Regions from separate parts of the Homo sapiens genome. Here region 2 is linked to region 1. Evidence: promoter capture Hi-C in human tissues and cell types (Jung and others, 2019). All regions are on one chromosome and are shown on one strand. The core of a region is centred on a gene start or on the middle of the fragment in contact, and the rest is flanking DNA. Distances in the headings are between cores, read along the strand shown.

Region 1 (6,928 bases), core at 2,445-4,944:
TTCTGGGGCTTTGGGAAGCTTGTCGGCAGTTCCCCAGCTCTGTTTTGGGTCTGTTTTTCTCATCTCTCCCTCTACCCATGACCCCCTTGAGCTGGTCTCTCCTCATTTCTTACATTCAGCTCCTCAGATCTCTTGGGCTTTGGCATGGGTCTGGGCTAGGGAGGTGGCTGCTGGGTTCTCAGCTGCACTGAGGGAAGACTGAGAGGAGGAGAGAGGCCTGGGGTCACGCAGGAGCCCTGACATCTGAACCCCTTCTCCAGGGAAGCACCCAGGCACAGAGCTTGACCCCCAGGGTCAGGCTGGAAGCGCCCTGGGAGATGGACAGGGCCTGGGGATGCAGCTTCCACCTCGGCAGGTGCAGCTCCCATGACCTGGAGTGCCGGAGTCTTTGCTCCAGCCACAGCGAGAGCCTGTTGTCCCTATACTACCACTCTTTCTTGCTGTTCACACATGCAGTCCCCTGTGTCTGGAGCTCCTTCCTGCTTTCCCTGCCTGGAGAGAGCCTGCCCATCCTTCAGAGTCCAATGCAAATAGTTTCTCTTCCAGGACAATTTCCCGACTTCCCTAGAGAGAATCTATTGCTTTTTCAGCTCCAGGGGTACCTTGTAACCACTGCTGGTGTTATACTTGTCACACTCTGTGTTGAGCACCTGCAGGGTGAAACCTAGGTATTGGGTCCTCCCAATCCCCAGCCCCATTTAGAGGCTGGCCAATGAAAGGGGCTGATTAAATGGTGTCTGGCTGGAGCTTCTTTTGGTGGGGGGGGAGTGGTTACAGTGACACCAGGCCCTGTCACCCAGGTGGCAAAGGATCCAGGAGAGCAGGCAAAGCAAGCAGCCCCTCCTTGCCTGTCTTGCCCTTTAGGACCTTCCCACTGCCCAGCTCAGTTTACCACCTCAGAGCCTAGGATGGCACTGCCAGGGCCGAGTGGGCTTCTGGATTCTGTGCCCCAGTCAGGGTGGACCCTGCAGTGCTCCCAGCACCCCGCTGCCCGCAGGCTGGCTCCTGACTGCCACGTTTCTGAGCCCAGCCAAGCCCAGCCAAGCCCCTTGACTCTGTACCAGGCTGGCACGGAAAACAGGAGGTGGGAGGGAGGACCAGCTTCCTCCAGAGCAGCCGGAAGCGTCAGGGGGTTGACCTCAGGTGTTAACACCCACGTCTGGTGGCTCAGGGTGCGTTTAGGTCTCCGGAACAGTAATGAGTCAAGGCCAGGATAACCAGTCCCAGGGTCCCTGACTTCCCTCCAGGCCTCAGCTATGGAGTAGTTAGCATGGGACACATTTCCTTCGGGGACAGGGCTTGGGCTCTGACCTCTGCCTGGGCCTGAGTCCCTGCTCCAGCTCTCCCTAGGAATACCCAGCTTAATGGGTTCTTGGGAGAGCTGTCATTAAGACGCAGCAGCTCAAAGGACCCTGACTGTCACAGAAAGGGGCCTGTGGGGATGGAAGGAGGTAGGGAATGGAAGGGAAGGGAAGGGAGGGCTGAGCCTGGGTGTGGAGATCCCATCCTCCCCTCAGGGCTGGGAGCTATGGCTGTCAAGGGTTATTAAGCACAGGCTTAATGACAGGGTTATTCAGCACAGGCAGTATAATGGCTAGCTCCGGGGCTAGAAACTTCCTTGACCACACCGTGGAGATTGGCCATGCTGCTGCCTTGCCTTTGGGGCCCCAGGCCTGACCTGACCCCTCCACCAGTGTTCCCACCTGCCCTCCCCCGCTCCTCCAGCAATGCCCAGCTCCTTCCCTGGTGGCAAAGGGTCTGTGTTGGGTGTACTACCCAGCTGTCATTTCCTAGCACAGACTCCTCTTTAGTCCTAAGTCCTTACATCTGTGCGGGGCTTCATGGTTTCCAGAACCTACTCACATGTATTAGCTGTGTAATCTCTGCGAACCCGGTGCATGTGCGTGGGGCTGTTGTGGGTCATATCGTTTCCGTGGGCAGGGGAGAAGGTGAGTCTCGGGAAGATGAATGCCTCAAGACAGCACAGCTAATCAGGGAGCTGGCCTCAGCCTTCTGATTCTGCAGTTAGTGACCTGCCCTAGAAATGATTCCCTTCTCTGTTGCTCCCCCAAGAGACACCCCAGGTCTCCTCAGTGCCTGCCACCCAGAAGCAGCTCACAGCTAGGTAGACTCCACAGCTGCTCTCCTCTCCTGGGAGCCCCAGGGGATACAGCGTCTCTGCACACAGGCCAAACTTTGGGGCGCCTCCTTGGATGGGAAAGCAGGAAGCTTGTGCTTTGATCCTGGCTCAAAGGGAAGCCCCTTCCCCTTTCTGATCATCAGCTACAACCGCACTAAGAATTGTTCTTGCCAGAATTTTCAGAAGAGTGTCGTGGGAAGTGCTCAGGTTGGGAATAGGAGACAATCACTCGAGGGGCCCCTGCAGGTCACACCCTTCCCCCTTGGACAGTGGCTTCTCCTTTCCTCTCTTCCCTTCCCTTTCACTTTGGTGGCTGGGCAATTGCTGCCTCTTGGCCAAGGACTGGAGAAGGAAGACCCCTGGGTTCCTCCTCAGACCCAGTTATTATCTCTTCCCCTCCCTGGCCCTCAGCTGTCCTCCTTGAAAGATAGGGTTGATTCTCTTTGCCCCAAGACAGCGAAGACGCTCCAGGTATTCAGAGGAGGAGGAGAGAGGGTGAGGGCATGAAAAGAGACCAAGTAAAAGATGACCACAAACACCCTAGATTGTTTGGAGGCATCTCTGCACTGTTTTCTTTTCCTTCTTTCTTTTTTTTTTTTTTTTTTTTTTTTTTTTTTTGAGACGGAGTTTCACTCTTGTTGCCCAGGTTGGAGTGCAATGGCACAATCTTGGCTCACCACAACCTCCGCCTCCCAAGTTCAAGCGATTCTCCTGCCTCAGCCTCCCAAGTAGCTGGGATTACAGGCACCTGCCACCACGCCTGGCTAATTTTTTGTATTTTTAGTACGGATGGGGTTTCACCATACTGGCCAGGCTGGTCTCAAACTCCTGACCTCGAGAGATCTGTCTGCCTCAGCCTCGCAAAGTGCTGGGACTACAGGCGTGAGCCACTGCACCCAGTCTACACTTTTCTTTAAAAAGAAAAGGAATCAGTTTCCCCAGGGAGTGGCAGAGGGCAACCGTGGCATCAGAACAGCCCCCTGCCTTGGAAAAATAGTGCCAACCTCTAACCAACAGACCTGGAGACATTGGGCAAAAGAACATGCAGGATTCAGGAAAGAATAGTCGGGAAGGACAGCCCTGGCTCTGTGCTCAGCTTCTTAGGTGAGCTGGTCCAAGGACCATGGCAATGGAGGAAGAGAGGAAGGCAGGTGGGTATGAGACGTGTACCGGGCTGGGGTGTGAGGGGATTTGGGTGTGGCCTCTTTTTTTAACCTAGAAGGTGTCACAGAATTCTCAGCTGATGGATGCTCAGGCTGCTTGAAGGGCCTTACATGGGGAGACCCACCCTTCCTGTGTCTTGGGAGCAGAGGGCCCCACACTCACCATGCTGGCTCTGTGATCCTCCCGGTCTCCCTGTAGCCTGGAGCTGAGATTGTCACCCCAAGGCAGCAGGAGGGCCTCCCCACACAGGTCCTGGCTGGCCAGCAGGTCAGAAGTCCCTGGTCAGCACTGGCTGGAGGAGGCCCGAGTGCAGGGCAGGCCTTGGTCCCTCACGCCCAGCATCCTTGTCCGCTGAGCAAGCTGCTGCCTCTCTCTGTGTATTCCAGGAGTGATTGGGGGACTTTGGGCAGCTTGATTAAAACAGCCCTACAAGTGAAGTTGCCAAACTGGAATGATTATGTGTCTTGTAACCTGACACCTATCTTAGGGGCTGGAACAACACCTGAAGTCATTCATGGGACCTTCGGCCTCAGAACAGGTGACACACCTAAGGCGTAACAAAAGCCTTCCCGCCTGAATGACTTCCACCCAACTGGGTGTTGGCTGAGGGTGATGCCAGAAGTTTCCGCCCCCCCTCCCCCTACCTTCTAGGTGCATGACTTCTCACTGTGTGGGTGCTTTGGTTTGGGGTTGTGGGAAGTTGGAGTGGTCTGGGGGTTGGGCGACAGGGTTTGCAGCTCAGTACAAAGAGATCATTGCCAGGTGTGGAGCAATAGGATTGGAAAGTCCACAGAGAAGGAGGGAGTTTCTTCTCTTAGGGAGGTAAGATGTACCCCCTTTCCCTGGATCCCAGAAGTGAAGCTGTCCTGCACAGAGCCAATGTACTAGTGCTTCCTGCCCCTGCCTCAGCAGCCGTTCAATATTCTGAAAATCACTATTGGTGCTCTGGCTAGAGCCCACGTCTCCTCGTCCACGGAGTCATTTCCTTCTTTCTTTCTTTCTTTTTTTCTTTTCTTTTTTTAAGACAGGGTCTCTCTCTGTCCCCCAGGCTGGAGTGCAGGGGCGCAATCTCAGCTCACTGCAACCTCCGCCTCCTAGGTTCAAGCAATTCTCGTGCTCCAGCCTCTCGAGTAGCTGGGACTACAGCCACCTGCCACCACACCCAGCTAAGTTTTGTGTTTTTGTATTTTATTTTATTTTGAGACAGAGTCTCTGTTGCCCAGGCTGGAGTGCAGTGGCGCGATCTTGGCTCACTGCAACCTCCACCTCCCAGGTTCAAGTGATTCTCCTGCCTCAGCCTCCCAAGTAGCTGCTGGGATTACAGGTGTTGTGCGCCACCATGCCTGGCTAATTTGTATTTTTAGTAGAGATGGGGTTTTGCCATGTTGGCCAGGCTGGTCTCAAACACCTGGCTTCAACTGATCCACCTGCCTCAGCCTCCCAAAGTGCTGTGATTATGGCGTGAGCCACCGCACCCAGCCCCACAGGATCATTTCTGATTCACGTTCTGCCACATCCTGATAGCTGGAGCTGCCCCCTGGCCAGGGGATGTGCAAGGTGAAACCTTACAGCCACAGATATTTTGCTGGGAGAGACTTGGATAATTGTCCACATTGTTCCCCCATTCTGTGGGCGACAAAACTAAATTCCAGAGAGGCAAAGTCAATGACCCAAAGTCACATAATGAATTAGTGTCTGGTTCCATATGAATCCAGATCTCCTTCCATTTCTCAGACCTGACCCTCCCAGGAGACCAGCCTGGGTTAGACGTGTGTATTTGTCCTTCTGTTGATAACGTGCTTCTGTGTATCAGCCCTTTAATTCTCCAACAACAACCCCAATATTTTGTTCCCATTTGTCAGCTGAGGAAACTATAGCCTATGGACATGAAGTAGTTTCGGGCAGAGTTGGGGCTGGAACCTGGTTCTCTTACTGGTTCACACTGCCAGGCTTGTGAACAGGCTGAATGGAACACAAGTGTTTGAAAGCCCCAGGTTCATGGTTTGGGATAATATGGCCCATGGAGGACCCCAGTGATGTCTGAGCAGGAGGAATACCGGATCTGTGTAATGGATTATTGGCCAAATCTCAGCTGATGAATGCAGTGTGGCCTTGGACTTGTCTCTGAGCAGCAGAGATCTGAAGCTGGCCTGCAGGGCTCTGGAGCCAGCACAGCCCCAGCCCTTCCTTACTGATGGCTGGTGGCCTTGAGAGTTGGAAGTCTTGGGCAGAGGCAAGAGCCTGTGATCTCAGGTGACCTCAGGGTCAGGGCCGTGATGGTCCAGGCAGGCACCTCCCCAGCAGCAGGGCAGTGAGAAGCCAGTGGGCCACTGGGAGCCACGTTTTCAGTTGTCTTGGTTCCTCTATGTGCCAGGCTAAACATCTGGCCCACAGGTTTGCATTGCTTTACCTGGTGCTCAGGTGATGAACCAGGAAAGAGGCAGCTGTCTGGGCATGAAGGCTGCTGGGCATGGCTGGTTGGAGGGATGATGACTCAGCCCTCCTGGCTTCTGCTCCCATTTGGGTCTGGGAGTTTGTGGAGAGGTCCGGGAAGAAGGCACATAAGCAGGACTGGGCAGGGTGGCTGTGATGCCTGCAGGTGGGGGTGAAGGTTTACAGAGGGAGGCACAGTGGCCTGGAGACAACAGAGGCCCACCTCTCCCAGGTGCCAGGGAAAACCAGCTGGACCAGAACCCACATTCTTTTTTTTTTTTTTTTTCTGAGACAGGGTCCCCCTCTGTTGCCCAGGCTGGAGTGCAGTGGTGCAGCCTCAGCTCACTGTAACCTCCACCTCCTGAGCTCAAGGGATTCCCCCGCCTCAGTCCCCCAAGTAGCTGGGATTACAGGTGTGAGCCACTATGCCTGGCTTATTTTTGTATTTTTTGTAGATACAGGGTTTCACCATGTTGACAAGGCTGGTCTCAAACCCCTGAGCTCAAGCGATCCACTCGCTCTGGTTTCCCAAAGTGCTGGGACTACAAGTGTGAGCCACCGCACCCGGCCCAGAACCCCCATTCTCCCGGAGGAAGCCTCAGCTCTCCCTCAGCCCTGTCCTGCCTGCTTCTTTCTCTTGCCCATCCATCTCTTTAGATCCTCCTCCTGTTTTTCCTCTCTTCTTTCCCTCCCATTACTTCTCTTTTATCTCTTCCTCTTTATTTTTGACATTTTTTTCTCTTCCTTCTTCCCTTTCCTTATCTGTTTCCAGCATGTGTGTCAAGATCCGAGGCAGAGTTATCATGAAACTCCTGAAGCTGAAGCTTCAGAGCCCCTCACTTGCACGGTTCCTTCCAGGGCCCTGGGAAAGGGCCCGGCAATATGTTCACACAATCATACGTTTTTGTAAATTTTGCTGAATATTTCTTTGACGTGCTTTTTCTTCAAGAAAGCCCCTCAAGAAGTGGCCTATCCCTGTGAGTGAAGGCCAGAGCCTTCCTCACCCAGGCTGGTCCCATACAGGTGACCTCAGTTTAAGGACCAACAGGTCTCGTCCAGCTGAGAGCTCTATGCACACCAGATTCTGAGAGGTGTCAGCAGCACTTTAAAAAACTTTGTTGTTTGTTTTCTATGAGGTTTCTGGACAATGGTCTGAGCTCAGACACGTTCTGCAGGAGAATATTATTTCTG
Region 2 (6,725 bases), core at 1,278-3,777, 200 kb before region 1:
AAGCACACAGGAAGTTGCTGGAAATGCAAACTTTTGGGACTTTCCCAGACCAGAATCAGAAACTCTGAGGGTGGGGCCCAGCAACCTGTTGCGACAAATCATTCAGGTGATTCTGATGCTCACTAAAAATGGAAAACTACTGCTTTAAATACAATACCAGTCTATAGGAAATACAGAGGAACATATTAAACAACACCTTCGTGATGCAGGCAAAAAAAAAAAAAAATACTGTGGAAAACCATGAGACAAATGACTCAATTTCTTTAAATGTAAATTGCAAGGAAACAAAAAATAATAAGGAATAATAATAAAAGATAATAAGGAACCCATAGATTAAGAGAGATCTAGGAAACATAAAGACCAATTGCAAATTTTAGACCTTATTTGGACCTTCATTCAAATAAACAAATTGTAAAAACATGTTATAACATTTATGAGATAACTGGAAATTGTAACACTGGTTATTTGACATTTAGGAAATGCTAATTCTCTTAGAATATGATAATGGAGACTGGATATGGTAGCTCAGGCCAGTAATCCCAGCGCTTTGGAAGGGCGAGGCAGGAGGATTGCTTGAGGCCAAGAGTTCAAGACCAGCCTGGGTAACATAGACAGACTGTTTCTACTATAAGATAAAAAAAAAATTAGCCAGGGATGGTGGTGCACTCCTGTGGTCCCAGCTACTTGGGAGGCTGAGGCAAGATAATTGATTGTGCCATGCACTCCAGCCTGCGTGACAGAGCAAGACTCCATCTCTAAAAATATAAAATAAAATATGATAATGGTGTTGAAGTATTTAAATAATTAAATGGGGGGGGCATTAGACTGAGGAGGCTCTAACTAAGTTCCTACTAAGCAAGCTAAAACCTAACTCAGTCTCATTTCCTGTAAGCAGTTAATTTAAAAGAAACTTAGCCAATCACAGAAGGCCATCTGGGCATTAGTTATATTGTCTTTAACTTCCTATTGGATAGTCTAAATAAGGAAATTCTGGAAGTTTAACCAATCAAATAATTTCTTTGCTCTGCTTCTGCATTTACCCTATTAGAGCCTTCCCCTCTTGCTCCGTCCTCGAAGCCCAAACCATTTCCAGTTTGGAGCAGCCTGATCAATGAATTGCTGTTTGCTCAAATAAACTCTTCAAAGTTTTAAAGTGTGCCAAAGTTTATCTTTTAACAGAAGTTATATTTATGGGCAAAATGATATGGTATCTTCAATTTGCTTCAAAATAATATTGGGTGGGTAGATAAAGACATAAATGACCATGGGTTGCTGATAATAAGGGCTGGGTGATAGGACATGGGGTTTGTTATATTATTTTATCTACATTTGTATATGTTTGAAATGTTCCATAGTAAAAAGCAAAAAAAAAAAAAAAAAAATTATTGACTTTGTGTGAGCCCATGAGAAAAGCTTTGGATTTAGAGACAGAACTCCCAGATTCAGCCCTAATTTTTCCATTTATTTTCTAGCCAGAGTGAGCTGAGTAACTGGGTAAACTGTTTCATCTCTGTCATCCTCATTTTCCTTATCTAAAGTAGATGAGGAAAATTGGGTAGAATAGAATAGTGAGAATTAAATGATACAATGTATTCAAATGCTTTGCAAAGAGCTTTGCAGATGGAAGGTTCTAGTATCTGGGTTGTGAATTCCATGAAGCTAAATATGGCATCTTCATATATTTTTTTTCAGCACAGTGTTAGACATATAACAGGTGCTCTATAATTATTCAGCCTTAGTTTTTAAATTCAATTTAAACATTATTTGGTAGATGAATGAATGGGTATATTCCAAATCCTAGGTTTCAGCCCAACATAGTACCATTCTTGATCATTAACTTAGTAATTAAAACTTATAAAGAGTGAATAAAAGTAGGAGACACATTCTGACAATTAGTATTTAATTAGTGTTTATTATTTAATCGACATTATCAATTAGTTTTAATTTAATCATGTTCAAATAGAATATATTATGATACAGATTACATTTGCTCCTTTCCTTTCATGGTTGCACCTAGGCTGAAAACAGAGGAAGGTGGGAAGCCCTTGTTCAGTGTAGATATCCCAGTCTTAGAGATGATCTTCACTTAGATGCAAAGATAAGCCAAGTTAAAGCTGGGACTGAGTTTTAGGTTGTCACTTCACTTCCTTAGTAAACTTCTTTAGGTTCCAACAGTGGGAGCTCCATACTGCTTAGCATCACTGAGGTGTGGGGCACACAGATGCTTCAGTAAGAATGCATTCACTCATCCAGCAAATGCGTATTGAGCATCTACTATGTGCCTAACAGTTAGGTGTTGGGGATACAGAGACATGAACCCTGCCCTGGAGGGATTCAGTCTACAGTAGAGGCAGACGTGTAAACAAGTAATGACCATACAGTGCAGCAAAGGCTATAAAAAAGGTGTCCCAAGGTGCTAAGGGAACTATTAACTCCAGGTCCAGGGGACAGGGAAGGCTTCATGGAATGTGAACTTAATTTTGAAAGGCAAATAAGAGTTGATCAGCTGGATAAAGTAGACAGAACATATGCACAAATATATATGTGGAGGTAAGAACAAGTATGTGATTAGTTTGGCATAGTGATGAATAAGGCTTAAGGAGCCTGGAAAGTGGGGAAAGAGGGGCTGGTTAGTTGACAGAGGCAGATCATGAAAGGCCTTAATCTGTGAATTAAGAAGAGCCAGTTAAGGTATACATCCAGCTTAATAAGATAAGAGACCTTAAAGTAAATGGAAAATTATACCTTTATTATAGTTATGCACAAAACAGTTTTTAAAGAGGTTTTTTTTTTTTTGAGACAGAGTCTTGCTCTGTTGCCCAGGCTGGAGTGCAGTGGCGTGATCTCGTCTCACTGCAACCTCCATCTCCTGGGTTCAAGCAATTCTCCTGTCTCAGCCTCCTGAGTAGCTGGGACTACAGGCACACACCACCATGCCCAGCTAATTTTAGTATTTTTAGTAGAGACGGGGTTTCACCATGTTGGCCAGGATGGCCTCGATCTCTTGATCTAATGATCCGCCCACCTCAGCCTCTCAAAGTGCTGGGATTACAGGTATGAGCCACCGATCCTGGCCTAAAGAGCTTTTAAAGAGAATCCTGTCTTTTAAAGGATCCTCAGGGACCATTTATGCATTTCACAAGTCATCATACTTATGATTTTATAATCAGTGCCTGGTTTGGTCATTCACTTTCTTACTTTCTTTGGATTTGATCTACATGACTTTTAAATGTGTCCAAAAATCAAGCCCATTCTCAAAAGCATGAGGATTTGCCATCAGTAAAAATCTCAAGGCTGGATGCAGTGGCTCATGTCTGTAATTCCAACACTTTGGGAGGCTGTGGTGAGTGGATCACTTGAGGTCAAGAGTTTGAGACTAGCCTGGCCAACATGGTGAAACCCTGTCTCTACTAAAAATACAAATAAAATACAAACTTAGCCGGGCATGGTGGCACGTGCCTGTAGTCCCAGCTACTAGGGAGGCTGAGGTGGGAGAATTGCTTGAGCCCAGGAGGCAGAGGTTGCAGTGAGCCGAGATTGCATCACTGCACTACAGCCTGCGCAACAGAGCGAGACCCTGGTTTTTTTTTTTTAAATCGAAAAATGTTATGATTCAAACTCCTAAGGCAATTCTAAAAATGTTCTAGAAATATCTGGAATAACGTCAGCATCATTAGAATAAAAGCTTGTCCCCAAGGTGACAACTTTAAATGACAATTTTTCTTTGGCTTTAAAAGCTTCTTTTCCTCTTGGTTATTGCTAATGTAGCTCAGCAGATATTGACACTCAAGACAGCATATAACATTGGAACAAACTGCAAGAAAAGAGCGATGTTGCTGGGACTTTTCCCTGAGTTTTCCCCTTTCCAAAGCTAAGGGTGGACCCCCTCACTGAGCTAGGCAGGAAAGGCTTTCCTCTTTAGCTCTGACTCACCTGAGAAGACTCACATCCTGTTTGCCTGGACAAGCAGCTGGCTGCCCTTTCTACTCAGAAAGGCTTCTCAACTCTGACAAGTCCAACCTGCTTGTTCTCTTGAAGCTTCAGGCCTCAATGGGAAATGGAGGGGAAGGTAGAAAGGCTGAAATACCTTAGCTAACTCAGCACCTTTGCTGCTTTTCAGCATTTGGCAGATCTATGATGATGCCTCCTGCCATACAATTTGCAACCCCTGCACTGTTCTATAACCTGTCCAGTGAGTCCTCTGATCACAGCCTTGGATGTTGAGGCAATGTCAAATTACTTGTAATAACTTTAAATACTTACTCTCAGGTTTTGTATTTATCTCCTTAAGGACCAGTGACAGTTTCCAGGTAGTCTGCAGGCCACACTTTGAGATGCATTGTCCCAATTTTTTTCAGTGAACAGAAAGTTCTGGAAAGATGACTAGGTAAGGTATAAAAAACCTGGTCCCATGTTAGCATATTGAAAGCCCTGAGGAGTACTGTAGCTAAAACCAAACCAAAACAAAATTCTTTTCATTAGTTTAATCTAGCATTTTCCCTTGTGTACAGAATCTTTTCTGTTGTTCAGTACCTACTAATATCTTGAGGAGTGGTGTCTGTCCAGATGCCAATCTAGATGTTAGTGTAATAGGTCTCCACGGCTTCTTGCAATTTTGAGTTTTAAGCAGGCAAACTCTTCCCATTGCTTGAGTTATTGATTCTATACTTCTCCCTGCTTACATTATCTCAAACAAAATGTGTCTGCTGCCCCCTTTTCTCCCCTGAGATGGCTGAGATGGCTTGTGAAAAGAGCAAAGAACAAGAGGTGGAGTTACAGTAAGTCAAGGACCCTGGACAGAAAGTTGCTGAGGCTGAGGCCAGGGAAAACAAGAATTACTGGTGGGGATTACAAGTCAGTTCTTGCCATGAGCTTCTAAGCTTCCACTGCTGTTATTCAAGTAGGCTACTTGCAAGATCAGCTTTCCTCCAAAAAAGCTTATGTCTGTTTTCAAACGTAAGCTCACTGTCTCAGTGGTATTGATGGATCAAAATGTTTAATGGTGTTGGAAAAGGTGGAGCCTTTTTCCACTCTGCCTGGGACAGTGTACCTCTTGTGGAGAATCCACCTAACCTTCAGATTTTCCTCTACCCCTCTTCCTGTTCTGATTCAGTGAGTGCTCCATGCAACCACTTTTGCATACCTATGCTTAAATCCTTATATGTGTACAAAACCCATTGATAATGAAAAAGGTAAAACCTCTTTAGCATTACTGACAAATCTCTGTTGCCTTTCTCTTTCACACTTATTTAAAATTCCCATCACTTCTTAGAATTTCCCTGACATCATCAGACTTCAATGAAAAACCCTTGGACCAAACTGGAGACAAAAGACTCTCACCTTTGACAGCTCCTTTCCTGCTGCTCTGCCTCTTCTGTCTTAAGCTTGTTTTGTGGAGGAAGGATCATGGAGTTTGGAATTAAAGCCCAGTTGTACTACTTCCCAGCTATGTAAGCTTGGGTAAGTTACTAAATGTCCTAGTGTCATTTCCCTCATCTGCAAAATGAGGAGATTAATAAAGTACTTTCTAAGGTTGTTGTGAGATGTAAAGATATTAAAAGAAAATTATTGCCTGGGTGCGGTGGCTCGCGCCTGTAATCCCAGCACTGGGGGAGGCCAAGGTGGGAGGATTGCTTGAGCCCAGGAGTTCAAGACTAGCCTAGGCAGCGTAGCAAGACCCCGTTTCTACAAAGAATCCAAGTGTGGACGTGGTGGCACGTGCCTATGGTCCCAGCTACTTGGGTTGCTGAGGCAGGAGGATCGCTTGAGCCCAGGAGGTGGAGGCTGCGGTGAGCTGTGATCGAGCCACTGCACTCCAGCCTGGGTGACAGAGTGAGACTCTGTCTCAAAAATAAAAAAAGAAAGAAAATTATTTAACAAATGGTAGTTATTGCGATTCCCACAAGCTGGCCTCTGACTTGAAGCTCTTGTGTGAGCCATGCTATTTCACCCTAACCCAGCCCCCCTGTTCTTTTGTCATCGGGTCTTGGCTAAAGGATGCCATGTATGGTTAGCCTTTTCAGAGACAGCTTCCCTCATGCTTCCAGGCAGAGCTTGTTCTTCCTGTGCTATCATTTGAACTTGGCATTTCCTTTATTATTGACGTCACCCTGTATTGTGACTAATTTTCTTTTTCTTTAACCTGAGAGCTCCTTGAGGGCTAAGATCTTATCATTTTCACCCTTGAATTCCTGAGGATGGTGCCTGACACTTGGTAGTTGCTCAAAACTATTTTTTTAAAGTAATAGGAGGCAAACGGAACAAAATGAGATTTTGCACAGTCCTAACCTCATTGTAGGCAAAAATTCCAAGTATTTTCCCTTCGACTTTTTCTTTCAGGAGAGATGCTGAGAAAAGGATGCCTACTGTTTATTTCATTTGCTTTTGCTTCAAAAGTCTTCCAGAATGGTGGAGGTGCAGTTCTGGGGAGGGAAGGAAGGCACTACTGGTCAAAGAGTGGTTGGTACATACAACTGAGAGTTGACTGTTGACGTGTTTGGTAGATTCTAATGAGGAAGGGAGACTGATGTTGAAGGAGGAGTTGAAGTTGTCTCTGGAGTTGACCTGTGAGTTAGGCAGGTCTTGTTGTGAGTCTGACTATATCACTAGCCTGGTGACCTTGGTTATACTACTTGATCTCTTTAAGTCTCAGCCTTAGGCCAATTTCCTCTCTTATTCCTGTCAAAAAACCGTTGGGTCACCTCTGTCTTCAAGACTTCTGCCTC

What was found. The method cuts DNA at HindIII sites, captures the fragments that hold promoters and counts their contacts. A contact is called where the count stands out against the background at its distance.
Region 2: a contact is called between a fragment that was not itself captured here and the fragment with the promoter of TMPRSS4 in region 1, in 3 of the 25 tissues and cell types used here (heart right ventricle, mesendoderm cells and thymus).

What each region holds. Positions count from the first base shown.
Region 1 is chr11:118,073,844-118,080,771 of GRCh38, reverse strand. It overlaps TMPRSS4 (transmembrane serine protease 4), which reads right to left and starts at 3,694. Exons shown (of 13, transcript NM_019894.4): 1 at 3,467-3,694. The coding sequence starts at 3,469. All of the region lies in intron 1 of SMIM35 (small integral membrane protein 35), which reads left to right. RefSeq lists an enhancer at 3,244-3,839. The HindIII fragment of the contact is 5,819 bases long and covers 1,125-6,928 here.
Region 2 is chr11:118,274,739-118,281,463 of GRCh38, reverse strand. No RefSeq gene overlaps it. Among named protein-coding and RNA genes, the nearest start is that of MPZL2, 14 kb to the right of the region's middle. RefSeq lists an enhancer at 3,736-4,030. The HindIII fragment of the contact is 5,787 bases long and covers 1-5,420 here.